Regions from separate parts of the Homo sapiens genome. Here regions 2 and 3 are each linked to region 1. The links are contacts of gene promoters, found by promoter capture Hi-C in blood cells and fetal thymus (Javierre and others, 2016). All regions are on one chromosome and are shown on one strand. Each heading gives the region's core, a stretch centred on a gene start or on the middle of the fragment in contact. The rest is flanking DNA. Distances are from core to core; before and after follow the strand shown. Region 1 holds the start of C17orf107 (chromosome 17 open reading frame 107). Region 2 overlaps SPNS2 (SPNS lysolipid transporter 2, sphingosine-1-phosphate). Region 3 overlaps SPNS2 (SPNS lysolipid transporter 2, sphingosine-1-phosphate).

What was found. The method cuts DNA at HindIII sites, captures the fragments that hold promoters and counts their contacts. A CHiCAGO score of 5 or more calls a contact.
Region 2: a fragment that was not itself captured here is called in contact with the fragment with the promoter of C17orf107 in region 1 in 1 of 17 cell types (neutrophils); the score reaches 6.3 in neutrophils.
Region 3: a fragment that was not itself captured here is called in contact with the fragment with the promoter of C17orf107 in region 1 in 1 of 17 cell types (neutrophils); the score reaches 5.5 in neutrophils.

Annotation. Positions count from the first base shown.
Region 1 is chr17:4,898,286-4,900,785 of GRCh38, forward strand. It overlaps C17orf107 (chromosome 17 open reading frame 107), which reads left to right and starts at 1,251. Exons shown (of 3, transcript NM_001145536.2): 1 at 1,251-1,543; 2 at 1,651-1,860; 3 at 1,952-2,500. The coding sequence starts at 1,478. The coding sequence ends at 2,248. CHRNE (cholinergic receptor nicotinic epsilon subunit) reads right to left here. Exons shown (of 12, transcript NM_000080.4): 9 at 1,183-1,297; 10 at 913-1,099; 11 at 716-822; 12 at 1-606. The coding sequence ends at 451. RefSeq lists silencers at 848-997, 1,018-1,127 and an enhancer at 1,328-1,637. The HindIII fragment of the contact is 47,734 bases long and covers 1-2,500 here.
Region 2 is chr17:4,519,906-4,523,354 of GRCh38, forward strand. The region is part of intron 2 of SPNS2 (SPNS lysolipid transporter 2, sphingosine-1-phosphate); the gene reads left to right. Among named protein-coding and RNA genes, the nearest start is that of SPNS2, 23 kb to the left of the region's middle. The HindIII fragment of the contact is 4,155 bases long and covers 1-3,449 here.
Region 3 is chr17:4,536,235-4,539,683 of GRCh38, forward strand. It overlaps SPNS2 (SPNS lysolipid transporter 2, sphingosine-1-phosphate), which reads left to right. Exons shown (of 13, transcript NM_001124758.3): 11 at 29-192; 12 at 666-712; 13 at 1,219-2,801. The coding sequence ends at 708. It overlaps MYBBP1A (MYB binding protein 1a), which reads right to left. Exons shown (of 26, transcript NM_014520.4): 26 at 2,670-3,449. The coding sequence ends at 3,181. Among named protein-coding and RNA genes, the nearest start is that of MYBBP1A, 17 kb to the right of the region's middle. The HindIII fragment of the contact is 844 bases long and covers 1,304-2,147 here.

The DNA.
Region 1 (2,500 bases), core at 1-2,500:
TGTTTGGTTCCCACCCGCTCCAGCAGAGCCAGACCAGGGAAGAAGAGGGTTTCCTGGCTACAGCCTCCCTGTGTGCAAGTCCTGCAAAGGGGTCTCCTGTTTGGCTATGAAATGAATATAGATAGATAGCTCACAAGCTGGCAGCCACCAGAGTCCCGTGGGGCTGAGCCTTAGAAAGGCTGGGAGGTCAGCAAGGCTGAATGAAGGGCAGTCCTTGCTTTCTGGAAGACTGGCACCTGAGAGCCTATGTGAACCCTTTCCTCCTGCTGACCCCTGGACTGCGGCCAGGCCTACACACGCCAGGGAACGGGCACACACCATTCTTGTGAAGTTCACAAACTGCAGATTGATCAGCAGGGGGAAGGGATCATAATGCCGTGGTGGCGGCAGCCTACTTTTTCAAAATCAATTTCCTACTGGAGATGGGTGGGAAATTGAAGTCGGTGCGAGCTAAGGCTGGATACACGGCGCGTAGGGGAGATCAGGCACTCGGTTGAAGTAGGCCCCGAGGAAGATGAGGCTGGAGCCCACGCTGAAGAGCACCAGAGCGGCCCAGAAGCAGATGTTGTCAAGGGCATTCCCCATGCGCACCCAGTCGGACACTTCCTGGGGAAGGGTCGGCACAGTCAGTAAAGAGGCAGCTGCAGGAGCCAGCGGCATGGGAGACAGTGGTGGGCCTCTGCCTCGCTCCACCCGCCTCTGGCTCCTGTCCCACCTCGCCGGTGGCCTCCTGATCTCTCGTGCTCTCGGCCACGAAGTTCACGGCATCCACACAGCAGCGGACCTCGGGGGCGGCGGCGCCCAGGCTCTGGCAGAAGGCAGCTGGCGGGGAAAACACCGGGGTGGGCCTTAGGAGCCTCCCCCCTGGCAGGCACCCCGCGCGGCCCCCCGGGCCAGGGCCACTGTGCTCACCCGTCCAGGTCCCCTGCCGGTGCCTCTGCCCCTCAAACACGAGCTCGCTCCGTGGCTTTTTCAGTATCAGCTCCTCCGCGCGGAGCAATAAGCCCACCGACGACGCCCGCCTTGGGGGCGAGGCGGCCCGGGGGGCCTCGGGCGGCGGCGGGGAGCCCAGGAGGCGCGGCAGCAGCTCCAGGAGAACCTGGGGCAGGGGCGGGGCTTAGGGGACGAGGTTAGTACGAAGCCCCACCCCGACCCGGGCTGCACCGCCCCCTCCGCGCTTACGTGGCGCAGCCGCGGGGACATGGCGTGGGTGGTGGGCGTCCGCTGGGACACGTTGAGCACGATGACGCAATTCATGACAATGAGCGTGGCGACCACCATGACGAAAATAAGGAACCTGAGGAGCCCGGAAGGCATGACATCACCGTTCCTCCTCCCAGCTACCGAAGGCGCCGCGCGCTGACCTCACAAACACGGCTTCTCCTGGTACGGGCTGGTTACGCCCTCCAGCTGCGCCCCCTACACGACGACAGACGCGTCCCCCAGCCCTTCTCCTGTCCTACCACTTGTGGCGGCCATGAAGGGGACCCCCAGCTCCCTGGACACCCTGATGTGGATCTACCACTTCCACAGCTCCACCGAGGTGAGGCTACGCCCGCCAAGGGCTGCACCTCGAGACCTTCTGGGTAGGTCTCCTGTTCGCCCCTGTGACCCCTGCCCTGCTACTCTACTGCTCTGCTCCTTCTCCAGGTGGCCCTCCAGCCCCCGCTTCTGTCTTCCCTGGAACTCTCCGTGGCCGCAGCCCATGAATATCTGGAGCAGAGGTTCAGAGAGCTGAAGTCCCTGGAGCCACCCGAACCGAAGATGCAGGGGATGCTGCCTGCCCCGAAGCCCACCCTGGGGCTGGTGTTGAGAGAAGCCACAGCCAGCCTCGTGAGCTTCGGCACCACCTTGTTAGAGGTGGGGTACTGGGGGGCTTAGGATACGCGGCGATCGGGTAGCGGGAACAAGGACCTCTGCCTCCCCGCTAACCCCTGTGCCCCCAATGCAGATCTCAGCCCTGTGGCTGCAGCAGGAGGCGCGGCGACTAGACGGCAGCGCGGGCCCAGCCCCAGACGGCAGGGATCCGGGTGCAGCGCTGAGCCGGGTAGCCCAAGCCGCAGGGCAGGGGGTTCGGCAAGCTGGGGCTGCGGTGGGCGCCAGCGCCCGGCTCCTAGTCCAGGGAGCATGGCTATGCCTGTGTGGACGGGGTCTGCAGGGGTCTGCCTCATTCCTGCGACAGTCGCAACAGCAGCTAGGCCTCGGAATCCCCGGAGAACCGGTGAGCTCAGGACACGGGGTGAGTTAGGGGCCAGAGGCGGCGGGGCTAGGGAGGCACTGAGCCGGACTGTCCCCCAAGAGAGCTACTCGGGAGACCTCCAGGTGACGTCCAGCAGCAGTGAGGAGGACGGCGGACCAGGGACTCCATCCCCGTACCAGCCCCACCCAGCGTCCGAATAAAGCCCAGGGCGGGGCGAGACAGCCAGAGCTTTTCCCGGGGTCTCTGGGTTTTGGCCACGCCCCCACCCTTCACACTGGCCACACCCCCGCGGGGGCTCCG
Region 2 (3,449 bases), core at 668-3,167, 380 kb before region 1:
CTGATTGTGTTCAGGCCCCTCCATGGCCTGTGACCTCCAGGGGGCCAGGCGGGGTCCTCCCTCCTGTCTGTCCTGAGCAGAGAGAGGGCAGCAGTGATGGATCCCACCTCCCTCCTGACCCTGGACTGCCATGTCCCAAGGGAAGACACTGAGGGGCAGGCTGGTCCAGACTGTGCCTTCCTAATTTGGTCTGTCATCTCGGGCAACTTCCTCCACCTCTTGGGGCCTCAGTGACCTCAGCTGTTAGATAGGGATGGACGTGGGGAGGATCAGGTGAGCTAAGGGCACGTAGGTGCTTGGGCAAGTTCATCAGGCTGGGGCCGGTGGGTGGGGACGGGGCGTGCCAGCTTCTGCCAGGAGTCCACCTGCAGTCCTGGGGACTTCTGCCCATCTAAGTGAGGAGCCAGAAACCAGGGAGGGGTTGAAAGAGCTAAGAAGGGCCCGTGCTTCCTGCTCCACTGTGGGCAAGAGGAGAGAATGGAGCATGATGGCCGGGGTCTGGCGAAGGTCTGGGTCACGTCCCTCCAGTCCCTCGTCACCCCCCCGGGAGGGGGCTTTTTCAAGGATCCTACCATGGTGTTGGGGGGCGGGGTGGAGAGAGCGCGCTGTGGTTCTCTGCCGCCTTCTAAACACCAAACCCTGTCCTGGTCTTTAGCCCAGTCCTCCCTCCACAGCCTCATCTCTCGCTGCTTCCTCTTGAGCATCCTCAGGCCATGGCCTGACCTGTCTCCTTGCTGTCCTCAGCAGGCCCTGAACTTTCCCTGACCTTGGGAACATCAGCTGGGACCTTCCCCCTTCCCAGCATGGCAGTCTGGGGAGTGATTTAGAGCAAGGACTCTGGAGTCTGCCAAACTGGGATTTAAATTCTGGCTCAGCCGCACACTCGCTGTGTGACATCACTTCTTTTGGCCTCCATTGTCTCCTCTGTAAAATGAAGAGAACAGAATCAAAAGAGATCATCTGTGCATATGTCAAGGCTGCATGCTGGGCCTTGCCTATATATCCATAAATAATAACTGCAGTTATCATGAACACTAAGCATCATGCCTCGTGAACCATTATACAATATTGCTGATCTGAAGTTTATATTTCAGCGTATATTCTTGATGTTAAGTATTATCTTAGCGGTAAACTCCTATGCATGCTTCAGTGCCCAGCTTTGTCACCACCGCCTCCGGGAAGCCTCTCTTCATTATCCTGGCAGGATCTGGAGCTCCTTGGTGGTTCCCCAACATAGGTTGTCCTTTAAACAGAGCAACCTATGAACAAGATCTGCCCCTGGCCAGACAGGGGGAAACTTCTCTTCTGATTCCTTCTGTCCACTTGCCACCTAGCACAGACAGGCACAGGGAGAACAATTCCTCCTCCTCCCCCAACATGTGTCAGTCCTGATGCAACTGGAAATCTCCCTCCTGCCACATTCTGATCTGATCTCAGGCAGGTCCTTGGAGGCAGGCCCAGCAGGAAAAATTCTTTTTCTAAATGTGAGGAAATAATTTCTGCCTTGACTAATTTAAACAAGGGCCCAGTGTTGACCAAGGCCGGCCTGCTCTGGGCAGGGTGTGGCATTAAGCACCTTGCACGTGCTATCCAGCACCCAGACCCACCCTGGAGAGCTGCTATTTTTATCTTCATTTTACAGATGAGGATGCTGGCATGTTGGCGCTGGCTCAGGCCAGCTCATGAGAGTCAATTGTTAACATTTCAGGAATGGTGTGTGAGCTAGTCGTAAAATACAACCATTGTTAAAAACTAAATGATATCGGCTTACAATTAAATAATTAGAAACAAGGTAATAACTACTCAAAAGTCCTCACTTCCTAATTATTTTGCTGTGTTTCAGCGTTATCTGTGGTCCTATGGTGAGTGGCGTCTGTTCTATTTGTGTGGTAGAAACACTGGACAATGGCGTGTCCCCGCACATCCCTTTCCAACGCCCATCAGTGACACGACGTGGGTAGCTTGAACTCAGCCAGGGCGGAGTGTTTACACCACAGAAATGGGCAAACACGGCCGGGCACGGTGGCTCACCCCTGTAATCCCAGCACTTTGGGAGGCCGAGGCAGGAGGATCACCTGAGATCAGGTGTTTGAGACCAGCCTGGCCAACATGGCAAAACCTTGTCTCTACTAAACATTCAAAAATTAGCCGGGCGTGGTGGCAGATGCCTATAATCCCAGCTACTTGGGAGGCCGAGGCAAGAGAATCGCTTGAACCCGGGAGGCAGAGATTGCAGTGAGCTGAGACGGTGCCACTGCACTCCAGCCTGGGCGACAGAGCGAAACTCCATCTCAGAAAAAAAAGAAATGAGCAAACACGCCACATCAGGGCTCCCCTCACCCTTTATCAGAGCCAGTTAAACATATATCAGCACACCACTGAAGGTGAGACACAGAATGGCTGTGGCCTGACTGAGGTCACCGGCTGGGAAGGAGCGGAGGTGAATTTGAGCCCAGGGAGTGTGCCTCATGCCCGGATTTGTGCACCCGCATGCTGATTCTCCCCAAGGCCTCTGGAATTAACAGGTCTGCTCGTACACCCACCACCCACGCGCACTCACTGGCCTGTTCTTGCTGGCATAAAAGAGGGGCAGTCACTCCTCCAGCCAGGTTCAGGGGAGCTCTGCCTGGCCCTCTCGCCTCTCTTTCACCTCTCTCTTTTCCTCCTTCCTCCCTCCCTCTTTCTCTTCTCTCAGGTCCCATCTCGCCAGGGTCTCAGGCCCACGGAGGAGCAGCCGGGACCACGCACACATTCAGCCTGGCGGTCAGAGGCCAACTGGCTGCCATGTCTGTCACTCCCAGCCTTTGTCTGGCCATCTGCCCATCAGCTGTGGGACTGCTTTCCAGGGGGAGGGATGGGGGGCCACCTCGCTGTGTGACCTAGGGTCCACCCTACCTTGCTCTGGGCCTCTTCATCCCACCTGGGACCTCCAAGGCCCCTCCCATCACTGGCAGTGGCCTCCCTGTGGAATCTTCTAAACCTCTTGTTCTGGAAGAACAAAGCCAGGTCACGGCCTTTGTTCGACATCCCCTCATGTTTTCCTTTCTCACCCATGGACGTCACAGTCATCACAGTGGGCTCCGGGGCCCCACCCCAGCCTCTTTCCTGCTCCTCCAACATGCTAAGTAAACTCCTGCCCCAGGGCCTAGGCACTTGCTGTTCTTGCCCCAATAATTGCGTGATTTGTTTCCTTACCTCCTCCAGGTCCTGGCTGAAATACCCACTTTGACCGCTCAATTTAAAATTGTGGTGGCCGGGTGCAGTGGCTCACGCCTGTAATCCCACACTTTGGGAGGCCGCGGCAGGTAGATCACTTGAGGTCAGGAGTTTGAGACCAGGCTGGCCAACATAGAGAAACCCCGTCTCTACTAACAATACAAAAATTAGCTGGGCGTGGTGGCAGGCGCCTGTAATCCCAGCTACTCAAGAGGCTAAGGCAGGAGAATTGC
Region 3 (3,449 bases), core at 476-2,975, 360 kb before region 1:
CCTGACATCCACCCCCAAATCCTCGCAGATCTCAGACCTGATCCGCCAGAGCACTAAGGACTCCCCGCTCTGGGAGTTCCTGAGCCTGGGCTACGCGCTCATGCTCTGCCCTTTCGTCGTGGTCCTGGGCGGCATGTTCTTCCTCGCCACTGCGCTCTTCTTCGTCAGCGACCGCGCCAGGGCTGAGCAGCAGTGAGTGGGGGGGAGGGGAGGCCCTGCTGCACCGCCGGGAAGCAGGGACCGTGATAGCCACCGTGAGCCCTGCCCTGGGGTGGGGCGGGGAGGGTACAGACCTCCCATGCACTCAGTGCACCCACTGGTTGCTGGGGTCCAGCCCTGAGGCCCAGTGCCAGGGTCAGCCTGGAGCTGTGGGAGGCCACGGGGGTGTCTGGTGGATCCAGACTTGGGTTTGTCTCTGGACTTAGTGGTTTTCAAAGCTGGGGCCCCTCCCCTTCCTCTTACTTTCTGACTTCTTTCTCCTTTCCTCTTTACTCCTCTCTCTCTCCTCTCCCCACCCCTGGGCTCTCCCATCTCCCCCTGGGGCTGACGAGGTCCCTGCCCAGCACCTCCGGTCAGCTGGCCCCCACGACACGATGTGCCAGAGCAGTGCCCGGGCCCGGCCCCCGCTGATGCACCACCCTGACCCCCGCCCGTCTCTCCCCCAGGGTGAACCAGCTGGCGATGCCGCCCGCATCTGTGAAAGTCTGAGGTGGTGAGTGCAGGCCGGGAGGCACGTGGGGGCTCCCTAAGGAAAGGGGAAGGCCAGGGTTAGGCAACAGGGAGCACTTTTCCTCCAGAGTCACCTCCTACCCCAGCACATCCCACCAACTCTGGGCTTTGTCTCTGAAGATGTTGCCAGAATTTACTGATGGAGCCATGGGTGGGACAGCAGGCTGCTCCTTCCAGTAAATTAGCTCCCCTTTCCTTCCTTTCAAGGGCTGGGTGGGGCCTCGCATAGATCAGGGCCAGGACTGGCCAGGAACTCCTCACTCTGTCCGGACTTCTGTTCTCCCAAATCCTCCTGGATGTACCAGGGCCTGACTCCTTGGCCCTTCCCTCTGGGAGTTATAGCTTCCCAGCAGCACGAGACCCAGGGTCACAGCTGCAGGTCCAGGAGAAGGCTTGCGTCTCCAAACAGCAAGAAAAGGGAAGGAGGGAGGGCAGCCTTGGCACAGGCCCCACTAAGCCCCACTGCTGACCTGACACCCCTTTCCCCAGGTGCCATTGGGACAATGAAGAACCCACACTCCCACCTCGTCTGGGAGGTGTCCTACAGCGTCCGGGACCGGCTGGGCTGCCCCAAAGCTTTCTGTGTGATCCACGGCTAGGCACCCACCCTCTCTGGCCCAGGCCTGCTGAGTGGCCCTGGCATCAAGAAGAGGCTGTGTCCTCAGTTACCCTGGAAGGATGTGTGTGTTGGAGCCACACGGTTGGACAGGTTCCCAGCCCTAGGTTTGGGCCGCAGGGCCCCTGGGGCCAAGGAAGAAGACAGCCCCAAGTGGGTGTCCGGGGAGAGCCTGGCCTGCCACCAGCTTATGTGATCTTGGGCAAGTCCCTGCCCTCCCTGGAACGAAGGGCCAGGGGGCTGGACTTTCCCACACAACTTGCTGGGCAAAGCACGATCTGCAGCTTTGAAGACTCAACAGACCCTGGACCATACGGAGAGCAGGTGGCCCAGGCCTCAGGGCGGCAGTCCCGGCTTTGAGGCTCACGCGAGGGCCTGGTATGCAGGGACCACTGCTCAGCTGGGCCTCGGACCTTGGGGATATTGGACGCAACCTGGCAAATGAAGCTGGGCGCCCAAGTCTCTGGGTACTCCCTGGAGGACACTGTCTCACTGTCTCGGGTTGGCTCCCAGCCTGGAGGTCCCAGATGGGGACTGTTCTGACAAGCTGGCATCACCAGGGGTGAAGGCCCTGGCTGCAGCTGTACACCACCTGTGCCCCCAGGCTCAAGGTCTCTGGCAGGTGCACACCAGCCCAACTCTGCAGGGCTTCTCTCCCTGCCACCACCCCCCAAGCCAGGACCCCACTCCTTCCCCGAGGCTGAGCTGAGCCTTTTCCAGGGGCAGGGCCCAGGAGACCATTCCCAGAATCCATGGGGCAGTAGCCAGGGCTCCGGCTGCTGGAGGAAGCAGCTATCCACAAAGCTTCCTGCCCCAGAGCTGAGGCTGAGGCCCCGGGAGAGGCGGCCCCTACCCAAACACTGGCTGCTGGCATTCCACCAAGTGACCCCAGGGGGGGGCCAGGCCTTCGATCACCCACCTCCCATCCATGCACACACCAGGATGCAGCTGCCAACTTCACACCAGCCCCAACCCGCTTTGGGGGAGCTTAGCCCCCTGCGTCACCCACTCCCTGCACTTCTGCTGCAATCAAGGTGGTTCTGGTGCGGGGGTGGGGTGGGGGGTGAGGCCTTGTGGCCAATGGGGGACCCCCCAAGAGCCAGCTTGGACAATGCTCTTCTTGCCCCTTAGTTACTGGCTGGCTGTGGCTTCAGTGGTGTGTAAGCAGGTGGAATACTCACCCACCAAGCTCTGGGGTACCCCGAGGGCCTGACAAGAGGATGGGGTGGGGGTGGCATCCTCCAAAGACCAGCCTCCACCCCCACTCCAGCCTCAGCGGGGCCCCAGCGATGTTTTCTTGTTGTACAAGAACCAGGTCCGAGTGTTGCCTCCTCTTCCTTCCGGAAGCCAAACTGCTCCTTTATTTTTTAGAGCTGCTGATTGTGAATCTCAGAGTCTTAAGAGAGAAGCCAAATATATTCCTCTTGTAAATGAAGAAATAAACCTATTTAAATCACCCCCTGGTGGCTCCCTCACAGCAAAAAAGCCTGGGGGCAAAGAGGTGGCAGGCACGAGAGATGGTCACACCTGCCTGCAGCCAGCACATCAACCTGCACCAACCCAGGCAAACACCAGAGCCCTGGACATGGCCCTGGAGCCAGGGTCCCAGCCCAGAACCGGGGGTGGGGAGGTCTCTGCACCCTGGGACCCCTGCAGGAATGGCTCAGGCTGTGCTTGCCAGAGCAGGATGCCCGGGCAGGCGGCAACAGCCACCCTCCCCAGTGGCAGCGCCTTAGAAACAGCTTGCGTATTAAAATCATGGTTTAAAAAAAAAAAAAAAAAATAGGCGTCTCAGGCAGATGGAGGCAGGGGCTGAGGGGGGCCCGTACCTGTGCTCAGGGCTTCCCTGCCTTCCTCACCTGTGCTTTCTTCTTGGCCCCACTCTGAAGCAGGCTGGGACTCCTGATGACCAAAGACAGCCTTGCCTTTTTCCGTGCCAGCGCGGACAGTGGTGATTTGCCCAAGACCCCCTTTTTGGGAAGAGCCTTCTGATGCTGCTTTTGGCCTGCAGGTTCCGTGGGGGACCCGGGAGCTCCATTCACCTGGGACGGCTTCTGGTTTTTCTTCTGCAGTTTTGGGGATTTGGCAGGGGTGCTGGGGCTCC